3 separate regions of the Homo sapiens genome follow, and all the other regions are linked to region 2. The links are contacts of gene promoters, found by promoter capture Hi-C in blood cells and fetal thymus (Javierre and others, 2016). All regions are on one chromosome and are shown on one strand. Each heading gives the region's core, a stretch centred on a gene start or on the middle of the fragment in contact. The rest is flanking DNA. Distances are from core to core; before and after follow the strand shown.

Region 1 (3,956 bases), core at 1,010-3,509, 960 kb after region 2:
GGATAGTGGAGGTTAACTCCCGGGAGGATGTTACAGGACCCTCCACTGCAGGAGGACATGAATCAGCCCCTATAGTAGGAGCATGAGATAGCCCACTGCAGGGAGGGTAGAGGTTAGCTTAGTGAGAGGAGTGGAGAACCCTTCAGCAGAGTCAGCTCAGGATGGACCCATAGCCAGGAGGGGGCAGGAACCTTAGTCCTACAGCAGCAAGGAACAGTGATCTGCCAACAATGTGACTGACCCTGGAAAGAGTTTCTCTTCAGAGCTCCCAGTAAGAGCCCAGCAGCAATGCTTGGATTCTAGCCTGTGAGTCCCACAGGAGAGAAACCAGCCAGGGCCAGCGAGCCTCTGACCTGCAGACTCCCAGCTCATCAAGTGTGTCTTTGGAAGATGCTACTTTTAGCGTTGTTATGGCAGCAACACAAAGGAAATACACACCAACAGACACACAGTCCAACGTCATGAGTGTCTTTTCCTTTGTTTATTTCAACAAGGGTTATAAAAAGTAGAAAAATAAACATTTTCCTGGAGGTGAGTTGGATTTACACACACAAATACATAAATAGCGACTGGGTGGCAATAAATTAAGACAAGTGGCTAATTTATAAATAAAATCTCAGGTTGCATGACTGGTGGGAGGGTCAGACACACAGGTCCCCACTGGCAACACAATTCAGGTCTCGCGTGAGGAGGCGGAAGAGGTTGAAGGTGACAGAGGCCTCGAGGCAGCCAGGGGACTCCTGTAGGGAGGAGGGGATGGGTCAGGGGCTGTCTGGGTTCTGGGCTCCCAGTGGCTCCCCAGACCTCAGTCCCTCTCTTCCCGGGTCACTCACCTTTTTTGGGGCCTCCTGGAGCCGGTACAGCCAATGGTGGAGGCGGCCCCGGGTCCTGGGCCCTGCCGTGGGCTGAGGCTGGATCTGTGGGCAGAGGAGGGCGGTGTGTGAGCCGGGGCCTTGGCAAGGGGAAGGACGCTGCTCAGAGCTCACAGACCTGGGTGCCCAGGCCCCAACGACTCACACAGGCCCGGAACTGGGAGAGGATATGGTGCAGGGTGTGAAGGGGCTGGTCCAAGACGTCCACCAGGGCTGGGTCAGTGTCAGCGGTGGCCTCCAGAACCTTCAGCGTCAGGGCCAGCTCAGCCTCCAAAGCCATGGGGCGCTCCCTCACCTGAGGAGAGGTGAGAAAGAGCAGGTGAGGGGGGAGGTGAGGGGAACAGGTTGGGGAGCAGGATAGAGAGGAACAAGTGAAGGTGACAGGCACAGGGGAGAGGGCACAGCCAGTGTGGTCAGGTGGGAGCGGAGGGAAGGGAGAGCAGGTGTGAGGAGAAGAGAGAGAGACAAGGGAGAAAGAGACGGTGAAGGGGCCACTACAGAGCCAGGTGAGTGGGGCTGGGAGAGCAGGGGTGGGCCTGACTCCCCCTCTCACCTGCAGCTGCCTCAGGTCCCAGGTCCTGGGGAAGAGGCGGGAGTGGCACCTGCAGTCCTTCAGCAGAAGCGACTCTTCCTAGACAGCAAAGGCACAGGTTAGCCCCAGCAGGAGGGGTGGAGGTTAGACCATCCTGGTGGGATTGGAGGATGGCTGACAACAGGATAGGGGAGGTTAACTGCTGGGAGGATGGTAGAGGACCCTCTTCTACAGGAAAACATGAGTCAGTCCCTACAGTAGGAGCATGAGATAGCCCACTGCAGGGAGGGTGGAGGCTAGCCCAGTGAAGGAAGCTGGGAGTGGGAAAGCATGGTGACGCTTGGAGTGGGGGTGGAGGCTAGTCCATGGCAGGAGGGCAGGGGGAGACTCACTAAGGCATCTTTGGCCCTCTTAAAGGCCTGCAGCTCCTGTGGAGACAGGGACTTGAACTGGGCTATGTGGCAGCCCCTTGCATCCGGGAGAGCCCCGTGGAGCCTGGCGACAGGAACTGCTCCAGTCACGGTCAGCACTGCGGCCATCAGCACCAGCACTGGCGTGCAGTCCCCAGTCATGTCTGTGTCACAGAGAGAAAGGGAGCTGAGGGGATGGAGAGGCTGCCCACTGAGGGCAGGGGCTGCAGGAGCTGAGCACGGACAGAGATGTGGGACTCACCTAGTTTCATTCCTGATCTCTGGTCTTTGTCAGCAGAAGAAACACTCTGAGGCTGTCACCCAGGGTCTGTTTGGGTCTTGTCTGGAGTCTCTGTTCTTTTCAGTCCCCTCTTCTGGATCTCAGACTGTGTCCTGGCTTTGACTCTTTCTGTCAGTTTTGAGCTCTGTCTGGGATGTAATTCCTGCCTGAGCTCCATGGGGCAGCTTTTATCCCTGACAGAAGGGCAGTCCCAGCTGATGTAGGAAAAGTGAAAACACAGCCTCAGGTAAGACACCGGCCACCAGGGGAGCCCCAGGCTGGGAAAGCCCAGAGCAGGGCAGGGCTAGTGAGCCAGATGAGCAGCTGGAGGGAAAGAGAAACTGATGGAGACTCAGGGGTAACCTACAGGAAGGTATGTTCCCAGGAGGATTCCACCTGCTCTGGTTTTGTTGTTGTTTAAGACAGGGTCTCACTCTGTCACTGGAGTGCAATGGCATGATCACAGCTCACTGCAGCCTCAAACTCCTGGGCTCAAGCCATCCTCCTCACCCAGCCTATTAAAGTGCTGAGATTACAGGCCTGAGCCACCCCTCCTGGCATATATATATATATATATTTTGAGACAGGGTCTTGTTCGGTCACCCAGGCTGGAGTGCAGTGCAAAATCTTGACTAACTGCAACCTCCACCTCCTGGGTTCAAGCGATTCTCTTGCCTTAGCCTCCCAAGTAGCTGAGATTACAGATTTGTGCCACCATTCCCAGCTAATTTTTATGGTTTTAGTAGAGATGACAGTTCACCAATTGGCCAGGCTGGTCTCGAACTCTTGACGTCAAGTGATCTGTCTGTCTTGGCCTCCCAAATTGCTGGGGTTGCAGGCATGAGCCACTGTGCCCAGAGGCCATGATTTCTTTCTTTCTTTCTTTTTTCTTTTTTTTTTGAGATGGAGTCTTGCTCTGTAGCCCAGGCTGGAGTGCAGCAGCGTGATCTCGACTCACTGCAACCTCCACCTCCTTGGTTCAAGGGATTCTTCTGCTTCAGCCTCCCGAGTAGAAAGGACTATAGGCATGCACCACCACGCCCAACTAATTTTTGTATTTTTAGTAGAGACGGGGTTTTGCCATATTGGCCAGGTTGGTCTTGAACTCCTGACCTCGTGATCTGCCTTCTTCGGCCTCCCAAAGTTCTGGGATTATAGGCGTGAGCCACCGCGCCCGGCCAGAGGCATATATGTGTGTGTATATATATATATATATATATATATAGAGAGAGAGAGAGAGAGAGAGAGAGAGAGAGAGCATGAGAGAGAGTGAGTGAGCAAGAGAGATGGAGTCTCGCTCTGTTGCCCAGGCTGGAGTGCAGAGGCACCATCTCAGCTCACTGCAACCTCTGCCTCCTGGGTTCAAGTGATTCTCCTGCCTCAGCCTCTTGAGTAGCTTGGATTACAGGCATGTGCCACCATGCCCAGCTAATTTCTGTATTTTTAGTAGAGACAGGGTTTCACCATGCTGGCCAGGCTAGTCTTGAACTCCTGACCTCATGATCCACCTTCCTCGTCCTCCCAAAGTGCTGGGATTACAGGCATGAGCCTCTGAGCCCAGCCAAGGCCAATATTTCTTAATTGCCCAGGCAAGGAAGGACTCAGGAATATGAGGCTCTGCTCAAGAACTGAGGTGTGACGAAGGACTTGAAGGACACCACGTGGGTGCCGTCTTTCTTAGGGAAGTTCAGGCAGTGGTGAAGAGCATGGGTCTTGGAGATGAAGGGTCTGGGGTTCAAACCTGGTTCTGACCCTCACTAGCCGTGTGACCTTGGCAAGGAGGGGTGCATTCAGCAACGCAGATTGCTAATGCACAGATTTGGAGAAAAAATTAATAACACAATTGTTTGTGTATTTATGTG
Region 2 (4,090 bases), core at 1,333-3,832:
CTCCCGCTCCACATTGTATACCTGTCCTAAAGAACATTCTGCTACATAACTGCTCTCCAGTTACCAAGGTCAGGAAGCTAACATTGAAACTGCTCTTCTGTACAGATTTTATAGTGTTCGCTAATGGTCACGCTTAATGTCCTTGTATGTTAAAAATTCCTAGCTAATGACCAGGCTCACATGTTGCATTCAGTTGGCAGGTGTGAAACTCACAGGGCAGTTATTTTGCAGTTATTTTCCCTCAACCAGGGTTGGTTGCCTCACTTTTTTTTTTTCTCTTTTTTTTAAGACGGAGTCTCACTCTATCGCCCAGGCTGGAGTGCCATGGTGCGATATTGGCTCTCTGCAACCTCTGCCTCCAGGGTTCAAGTGATTCTCCTGTCTCAGCCTCACCAGTAGCTGAGATTACAGGCACCCACCACCACACCCAGCTAATTTTTGTATTTTTAGTAGAGACAGGGTTTCACTATGTTGGCCAGGCTGGTCTCGAACTTACCTCAAGTGATCTGCCTGCCTCACCTTCCCAAAGTGCTGGGATTACAGGCGTGAGCCACTGCGCCTGGCCTAAAAGATATATATATATATATATATTTTTTTTTAAAGCTACTTACGTCTCTCCATTTGCCCGCAAGGAAATTCCTTGTGGACAGAAGACAGGCAGAGTTCAAAGTCATCCCTGTGCTCACATGAGACCAATGCATATCTGATGGCTTCCTCCGTCCTATTGTTTGACCCAGACTAGGCATGGATGGCTCTTCCTGTAAATTGTGCATTCAGTAAAAGGCTAATCAAACTCAAAAGAATGCAGCCGTTTGTCTCCTGTCTATGACCTGGAAGCCCCCTCCCCTGCTTCGAGTTGTCTTGCCTTTCCGGACCGAACCAATGTACAGCTTACACATATTGAGGACGTCTCATGTCTCCATAAAACGTATAAAACCAAGCTGTGCCCCGAATACCTCCTGAGGCCGTGTCACACGCACACCCTTAACTTTGGCAAAATAAGCTTTCTAAATTGATTGACACCTATCTCAGATACCTTTTGGTTTACACAGTTAATAAACATCTTGTGTAGAGACATTTTGTAGATATCCCGATTCCTATCAGATGTTCACCCACTAGTTTGAACATCTATTGATATTTCTTGCATGAAACGATGCTGTGGTGGTTGCCAAATAGGATTTTCCAACCTTCTACATTATTAGTTCGGCCAGTCATGGCGGCCCACACCTGTAATCCTAGCACTTTGGGAAGCCAAGGTGGGAGGATTCCTTGAACCCAGGAGTTCAAAACCAGCCTAGGCAACAAAGTGATACCCCAGTCTCTACAGAAAAATTTAAAAATTAGCCAAGCATGATGGCGCACACCTGTAGTCCTAGCTACTTGGGAGGCTGAGATGGGAGGATCACTTGAGCCTAGGAGGTTGAGGCTGCAGTGAGCCGTGTTCACACCACTGCACTCCAGCCTGGGTGACAGAGCGAGACCCTGTCTGAAAACAAAACACATTTATTAGTTCACTTTCTAAAGATTAGAAGAGCTTTTCTTTCCCACTGCCTGAGTTATATCAGAATAAACTTGTATTTTAATTTTATTCAGTGGTTTGTGATCTATGACTATCATCTTGATGCTCACATTTTCTAGATTTAGCTAGTGACTTCTGCATCTATGTGACTTGCCCTGCTGTTGGGACACTTTCTGCCACACAAAAATATTCCAGATCTTGTACCTTCTCTTGTATGACCCTGGGATCAGCCATTTCTCCAGGTAGCCCTGGTTCCTTTTAGTGGAGAATGGGATGTGGCGGCCAGGGTTTGGATGTTAGGGGTGCTTCTCACTATTGGGGTGTCGCTGCTCTTAAGCTCTCCCAGTGGATTAAGCTAGGAAATACATGTTTGCATACACACCACTTTTTAAAAAAAATTTTTTTTTTTTTGAGACGGAGTCTCGCTCTGTCGCCCAAGCTGGAGTACAGTGGCCCAATCTCGCTCACTGCAAGTTCCGCCTCCAGGGTTCATGCCATTCTCCTGCCTCAGCCTCCTGAGTAGCTGGGACTACAGGCTCCCGGCACCACGCCCAGCTAACTTTTTGTATTTTTAGTGGAGATGGGGTTTCACAGTGTTAGCCAGGATGGTCTCCATCTCCTGACCTCGTGATCCGCCCGCCTCGGCCTCCCAAAGTGCTGGGATTACAGGAGTGAGCCACCACACCCGGCCACACAACACTTAACTTCTATGTAAACAACCATGTGTTCACACAATTTTATCTCCAATTCCATTGCGACACCGACACCACAAGGGTCATTCTAACCTCCGATCTATGTTTGTACATCCATCCTCTGACGGTGCAAACCCTGATTCTACATTTTGAAATCATCCCGACTTTATGGTCAGGAAAGCGAGGCCCAGAGGGGCTGCTTCCGGGCAGCAGGATGAGGATCTGTCTCCAGCTGTCCGACCTTAGAGGGCTTCGAGAGGACAGAGCCAGCCTGCGGGGCACTCACCTTTGTGCACCTGCCCGGGCGAGGCGGGCTCAGTGCGCACGCGCCCAGGGGCCTTTAAAGCGCCCGCCGCGCGTCTCTTCCCCTAGCTGCAAGGGTCGGTGCTTGGCCTCGCCCGCAACACCCTCCTGGAGGATGCTGGTGAGAGGCAGGGACCAGGGGTCCGGCTCCCGGCTCGGGCCTATCGTTAGGCGCTGGGCCCCCAGGCCCTCTCCTTTGCAGAGTCTCGCTGCCTCCCTCGACGCAGAGCCTTCAAGCGCCGCAGTCCCCGACGGCTTCCCCGCGGGCCCCACTGTCTCCCCAAGACGCCTGGCGAGGCCGCCGGGGCTGGAGGAGGCGCTGAGCGCGCTGGGGCTGCAGGGAGAACGCGAGTACGCCGGGGACATCTTCGCCGAAGTCATGGTGAGCCTACCCGCCGCCTGCCCTGGTGAGGGCGACGCCGGCCCACCGCCCGGCACCCACTCAACACCACTCTGAACTCCCACCGCTCCAGCCTCTCCTCCCTATCACTGGCAGCCGGCGTTCCTTCCCTGCAACGTCCAGGCTTTTGTTTTGTTTTCACACAGCGCCGTTTCTACCGCTGGGAATGCCCTTTCCCACCGTCCCCGGGCTCTTTGCAGTCCCTCCTGGGGTGTTTATGGTCCCCTGTACTTGTCCTCCACATTTATTTGTTTAACAAATATTTAATGGTTTAGTAGCAAATGTTTTAGGTGCTGGAGATGCTGCAATGCTGGCCTCGTTCTGGGGAGATGAGCAAACACATAGAACAACTAGGGAAAGGCCACGCAAACCAAAACATTGGCCTCGCCAGCCTTCAGATATCCCTATGAGAGGGTTGCTGCGGAAGGAAGACTGAAGGGAGGAGTTTGTTGAACGTCTTGCCTGCGACTCTCCTGGGCCAGGATCTCTGTTAGGACCTGAGAGACACTTGTGTTGTGGGCAGAAGTCCCTGCCCTCGTGGGACTGGCAGCCTAGCGGCCAAATAGACAAAGCACACAGGGAGACATCTTCACAGTGAAAATGCTGAGACAAAGAGATAGTGATCGGGTGGTAGGAGTATAGACAAAGTCATGGAGATGTTAGCTGAATGACGGAAAGGTCGAGTAAGGGGCTGGGGAAGGACCCTCTCTGTAGAGGAAACAGGAAGTGCAAAGGGCCTGGGGTAGGAATGGGCTTGGTATAGTCTAGGAGCTAAAAAGAAGGCAGCTGTGGCTGACGCATGGGTTGTGGGGAGAGAGAGGGAAGAGGTGATGCTGGAGCAGAGCCTGAAAGAAATCAGAGTTTTCTCCAAGGGTACTGGGAGCCATGGAAGGGTTTTAAGCTGGGGAGTTCCTTGGTCAGATCTTTCTTTGGGAAGATGCTTCTGGGTGCTCTGAGGCAGAGGGGTTGAGGATTCGTGGTCAAGAGTTGAAGTCTGAGGCCGGGTGCAGTGGCTCATACCTGTAATCCCAGCACTTTGGGAGGCTGAGGTGGGCGGATCACCTGAGGTCAGGAGTTCAAGACCAGTCTGGTCAACATGGTGAAACCCCGTCTCTACAAAAATATAAAAATTAGCCGGGCATGGTGCCACATGCCTGTAATCCCAGCTACTAGGGA
Region 3 (4,067 bases), core at 966-3,465, 570 kb after region 2:
TTGCTGCAGGTCTCATGCCTGGTGCTGGAGGGTCTCCAGGACCTGCACCTGCATGGGGCCTCCATCCTGCCAATTAGACATTTCCACATCACCCACACATAAGGTCAAACTCTTAGCAAATATTCTCCTTTCTCCTCCACCCCCTCCATTGGACCATGGAGTACTCACATAGAAGAGTCGATCAGTGTCCCTTTGATTATCACGCAGGAACCAACAGACAAAGACACAGGCAGTTTGTATGGCACCTGCCAGGGTATTGAGAATAAGTGAGAGGTGCAGGGTCAGGTGCAGTCTCCCTTCCTGTAACATATTCCCATGGTGCAGGAGGTTAGAGATCACAGGGCAGGCTCTGTGGACTCTCCCCATTCACTCTACCACAGTCAGGGCCCCACATTCCTGAAGGTATGGTGGACCCATAGGTAAGAGCAAGGGTTCAGGAGCCAAGAAGCCTGGATTCCAGTCCTCATTCTGCCTCTTACTAGCAGTGCAATCTTAGATCGGTTACTTGACTTCCTCAGTTTCCCTAAAACAAGGAGGATTATCATGAATTCCTACTGTGTAGGAAGTTCTCCATAATAGAGCAGTTAATACATGTAAAACTTTTACCCTAATCCCTGGCATGTGTAGGGCCTGTTAGGGGTGACCTAACAGAACAGGGGAGTCCTCCTGAAACACTGATCTGCCTTATTTTCAACTCTCACAATCATCAAGGGCAATGGACGTCCTTCCAAGAAGTGGCACACATTACTGACAGCACAGCCCCAGTACTTGCACAAGTGAAGCCTGTGGGTCAGGGACATAACTGGAGGGAATGATTGATTTCTACAATGACTACAAGTGGTTGATGATTTTTCTGTATTTTTGAGATAGGGTCTTGCTCTGTTGCCCAGGCTGACATGCAGTGGTGCGATCATAGCTCATTGAAACGTTGAACTCCTGGGCTGCAGTGATCCTCACACATCTGCCCCCTCTTGTGTAGCTGGGGCAAAAGGTGCCTGCCACTCTGGCAGTCTGATATTTAAAGTTTTTTAAAGAAAGGGTCTCACTATGATACCCAGACTGGCCTCAAACTTCTGGCCTCAAGTTATCCTCTCATCTTTGTCTCTCAGATTGGTGGGATTATAGCCGTGAGCCAGTGAACCCAGCTGCTTTGTTGATTAATATCCACTGTAAGCTCTGTCTGAACTGAGACTAGACTTGTTCCTTCATGGGTGGAGGAACAAGTTTAGACTCAGTTGAGACATAGCTTACAGTGGATATTTTACGTGATTCAGTCTCTGAAACCATGGCCTCTAATATCCTTCTCTAGCAAACCTCCTGTCCCACAATGAAAAGGACAGGATAGGCTGGGGACAGGGAAGCTGAGCCTGGGAGGCAAGAGACAGTGGTCACTCTGTGCAGACCCCACCTGAGGATCCATCACCCCCATAGTCTCCATTCCTCTTCCCCACTCTTACTGGGAAGAGACATCTACTGATCATACATTCTGCTCTCATAAGTGATCTGAAACAAGTCCTTGGTAACTCACAATCTCCAAGATCCCTACCAGTTAAGCCACCTGGGATCCACATTGCCACACATGAAAAGACACACAGTTCCTTCATCAGAAGTGCTGTTGTGTGGGGAGGAACCTTCACATGCACAGAAGGCCACATGCGTGTTTTCCCTTCAATACTCAGTCACATCCCAGCACACACACCCACAGTCACACAGAGCCATGCCACTCACTGAGTTACACACACCTGCTCACTGCGCACATAAAGATGACCATGCACTGGTCTGGCTGTGCTAACACACACTCACATCACAAAGAGGAAGACAAAGTACAATCACCCCCCTTACACTCACACAAACACCTGCTTGACCTGGTGTGCCATCCACCTCCCACCTAAAGTCACATCATCTCATCAGAGTTCACTCTCATCAGATACCACCTCATGCTCACAGAGGGTTACATTTGTCCAGGATCCACAACCCACATGCTACAAGCATCTCAGATACCCAGCCTCAGTGTTTCTCTTCCACACACCCACAACTCTCAGTAAAGCATTCACAGTAGGAATGCTCATATTTTCATCTCATAAAATACCCCACATCTTTCTTGGTTTTGTGTGACTTGAGATTATTGAAGGCTGTGCCTTTTCAACTCACAGTTAGAAATGACATTGTCCTCTCCTTCTGGGCGACCTTCGGAATTGTGTCCAGTCTTCTGAGTGAATCTCTGAGTTGCAGCACTTAAATGACCCCTTTCAGCTTTGCCCTCTGGCATCATTCCAGATTCCATGCTCCTCCCAGCAAGCTTTCCTTGCAGCATGAGAAAGGGTCAGGTGTCACGAAGAAACTCAGTCACAACCATAACTATTTGCAAGTCTGTGTCTGTAATGCAGCAGAAATGACATTGGGGAAGGTACCAGACTGTGGATTGGGTTACCAGGGAAATGCATAGATAAGGATGATGGAGTGAGGGGTAGTGATTGTAAAGCCCAGCCTTTGTGCCTCTCAAGCCTTTTCTCCACTATGCAGAATCTACCCAGAAGGTGTACATTTTCCCAATTTTGTACAATGGCTAAACAAGAAAAAAAAAGTTGGAGATTTTGGGGGAAACAAGTTAGCCCTAAAAGGTAATTCTTCTCTCTGCCTTTAAATGTTCTGGGAGAGCACTGACCTTGATCCTGAGGAGGATCTGCAGAGAGAAGTAGAGAAATTTCTTGCATGAACCTGCCCCACACTAAGCCACTTGGCTTTGCTAGGTAAGGGCCACTTTCATCTGACTGTCACACACTTGGGCTCTAGCTACACCCTCTGTTGGTGTCCATGTAAATCAAAGTTTGAGGGAGACTGTTTCTTCTGCAGATTCTGGGAGAAAGGTGAGATTTAAAAAAAATTATTATTATACTTTAAGTTCCAGGGTACATGTGCACAATGTGCAGGTTTGTTACACAGGTATACATGTGCCATGTTTGTTTGCTGCACCCATTAACTCGTCATTTACATTATTTATCCTGATGCTATCCATCCCCCTGCCCCCCACCCCATGATAGTCCCCCATGTGTGATGTTCCCTGCCATGTGTCCAAGTGCTCTCATTGTACAATTCCCACCTATGAGTGAGAACATGCGGTATTTGGTTTTCTGTGCTAGTGATAGTTTGTTCAGAATGATGGTTTCCAGCTTCATCCATCTCCCTGCAAAGGACATGAACTCATCCTTTTTTATGGCTGCATAGAATTCCATGGTGTATATGTGCCACATTTTCTTAATTCAGTCTATCATTGAAGGATTTGGTTTGGTTCCAAGTCTTTGCTATTGTGAACAGTGCTGCAATAAACATACGTGTGCATGTGTCTTTATAGTAGCATGATTTATAATCCTTTGGGTATATACCCAGTAATGGGATGCTGGGTCAAATGATATTTCTAGTTCTAGATCCTGGAGGAATGGCCACACTGTCTTCCATAATGGTTGAGCTCGTTTACACTCCCACCAACAGTGTAAAAGCGTTCCTATTTCTCCATATCCTCCCCAGCATCTGTTGTTTCCTGACTTTTTAATGATCGCCATTCTAACTGGTGTGAGATGGTATCTCAATGTAGTTTTGATTTGCATTTCTCTAATGACCAGTGATGATAAGCATTTTTTCCTGTGTTTGTTGGCTGCATAAATGTCTTCTTTTGAGAAGTGTCTGTTCATATCCTTTGCCCACTTTTTGATGGGGTTGTTTGTTTTTTTCTTGTAAATTTGTTTAAGTTCTTTGTAGATTCTGGATATTAGCCCTTTGTCAAATGGGTAGATTGCAAAAATTTTCTCCCATACTGTAGGTTGCCTATTCACTCTGACGGTAGTTTCTTTTGCTGTGCAGAAGCTCTTTAGTTTAATTAGATCCATTTGTCAATTTTGGCTTTTGTTGCCATTGCTTTTGGTGTTTTAGTCATGAAGTCCTTGCCTATGCCTACATCCTAAATGATATTGCCTAGGTTTTCTTCTAGGGTTTTCATGGTTTTAGGTCTAACATTTAAGTCTTTAATCCATCTTGAATTAATTTTTGTATAAGGTGTAAGGAAGGGGTCC

What was found. The method cuts DNA at HindIII sites, captures the fragments that hold promoters and counts their contacts. A CHiCAGO score of 5 or more calls a contact.
Region 1: the fragment with the promoter of IFNL2 here is called in contact with the fragment with the promoter of CCNP in region 2 in 2 of 17 cell types (neutrophils and monocytes); the score reaches 8.7 in neutrophils.
Region 3: the fragment with the promoter of LGALS16 here is called in contact with the fragment with the promoter of CCNP in region 2 in 4 of 17 cell types (total CD4 T cells, neutrophils, M2 macrophages and 1 more); the score reaches 8.2 in total CD4 T cells.

Annotation. Positions count from the first base shown.
Region 1 is chr19:39,266,699-39,270,654 of GRCh38, reverse strand. IFNL2 (interferon lambda 2) reads right to left here and starts at 2,259. Exons shown (of 6, transcript NM_172138.2): 1 at 2,077-2,259; 2 at 1,797-1,978; 3 at 1,426-1,503; 4 at 1,018-1,167; 5 at 834-917; 6 at 467-740. The coding sequence starts at 2,086. The coding sequence ends at 642. The HindIII fragment of the contact is 23,103 bases long and covers 1-3,956 here.
Region 2 is chr19:40,225,181-40,229,270 of GRCh38, reverse strand. It overlaps CCNP (cyclin P), which reads left to right and starts at 2,582. Exons shown (of 5, transcript NM_024877.4): 1 at 2,582-2,896. The coding sequence starts at 2,630. RefSeq lists an enhancer at 2,195-2,748 and a silencer at 2,775-2,894. The HindIII fragment of the contact is 9,498 bases long and covers 1,006-4,090 here.
Region 3 is chr19:39,654,061-39,658,127 of GRCh38, reverse strand. It overlaps LGALS16 (galectin 16), which reads right to left and starts at 2,215. Exons shown (of 4, transcript NM_001190441.3): 1 at 2,152-2,215; 2 at 169-245. The coding sequence starts at 2,166. The HindIII fragment of the contact is 3,782 bases long and covers 1-2,301 here.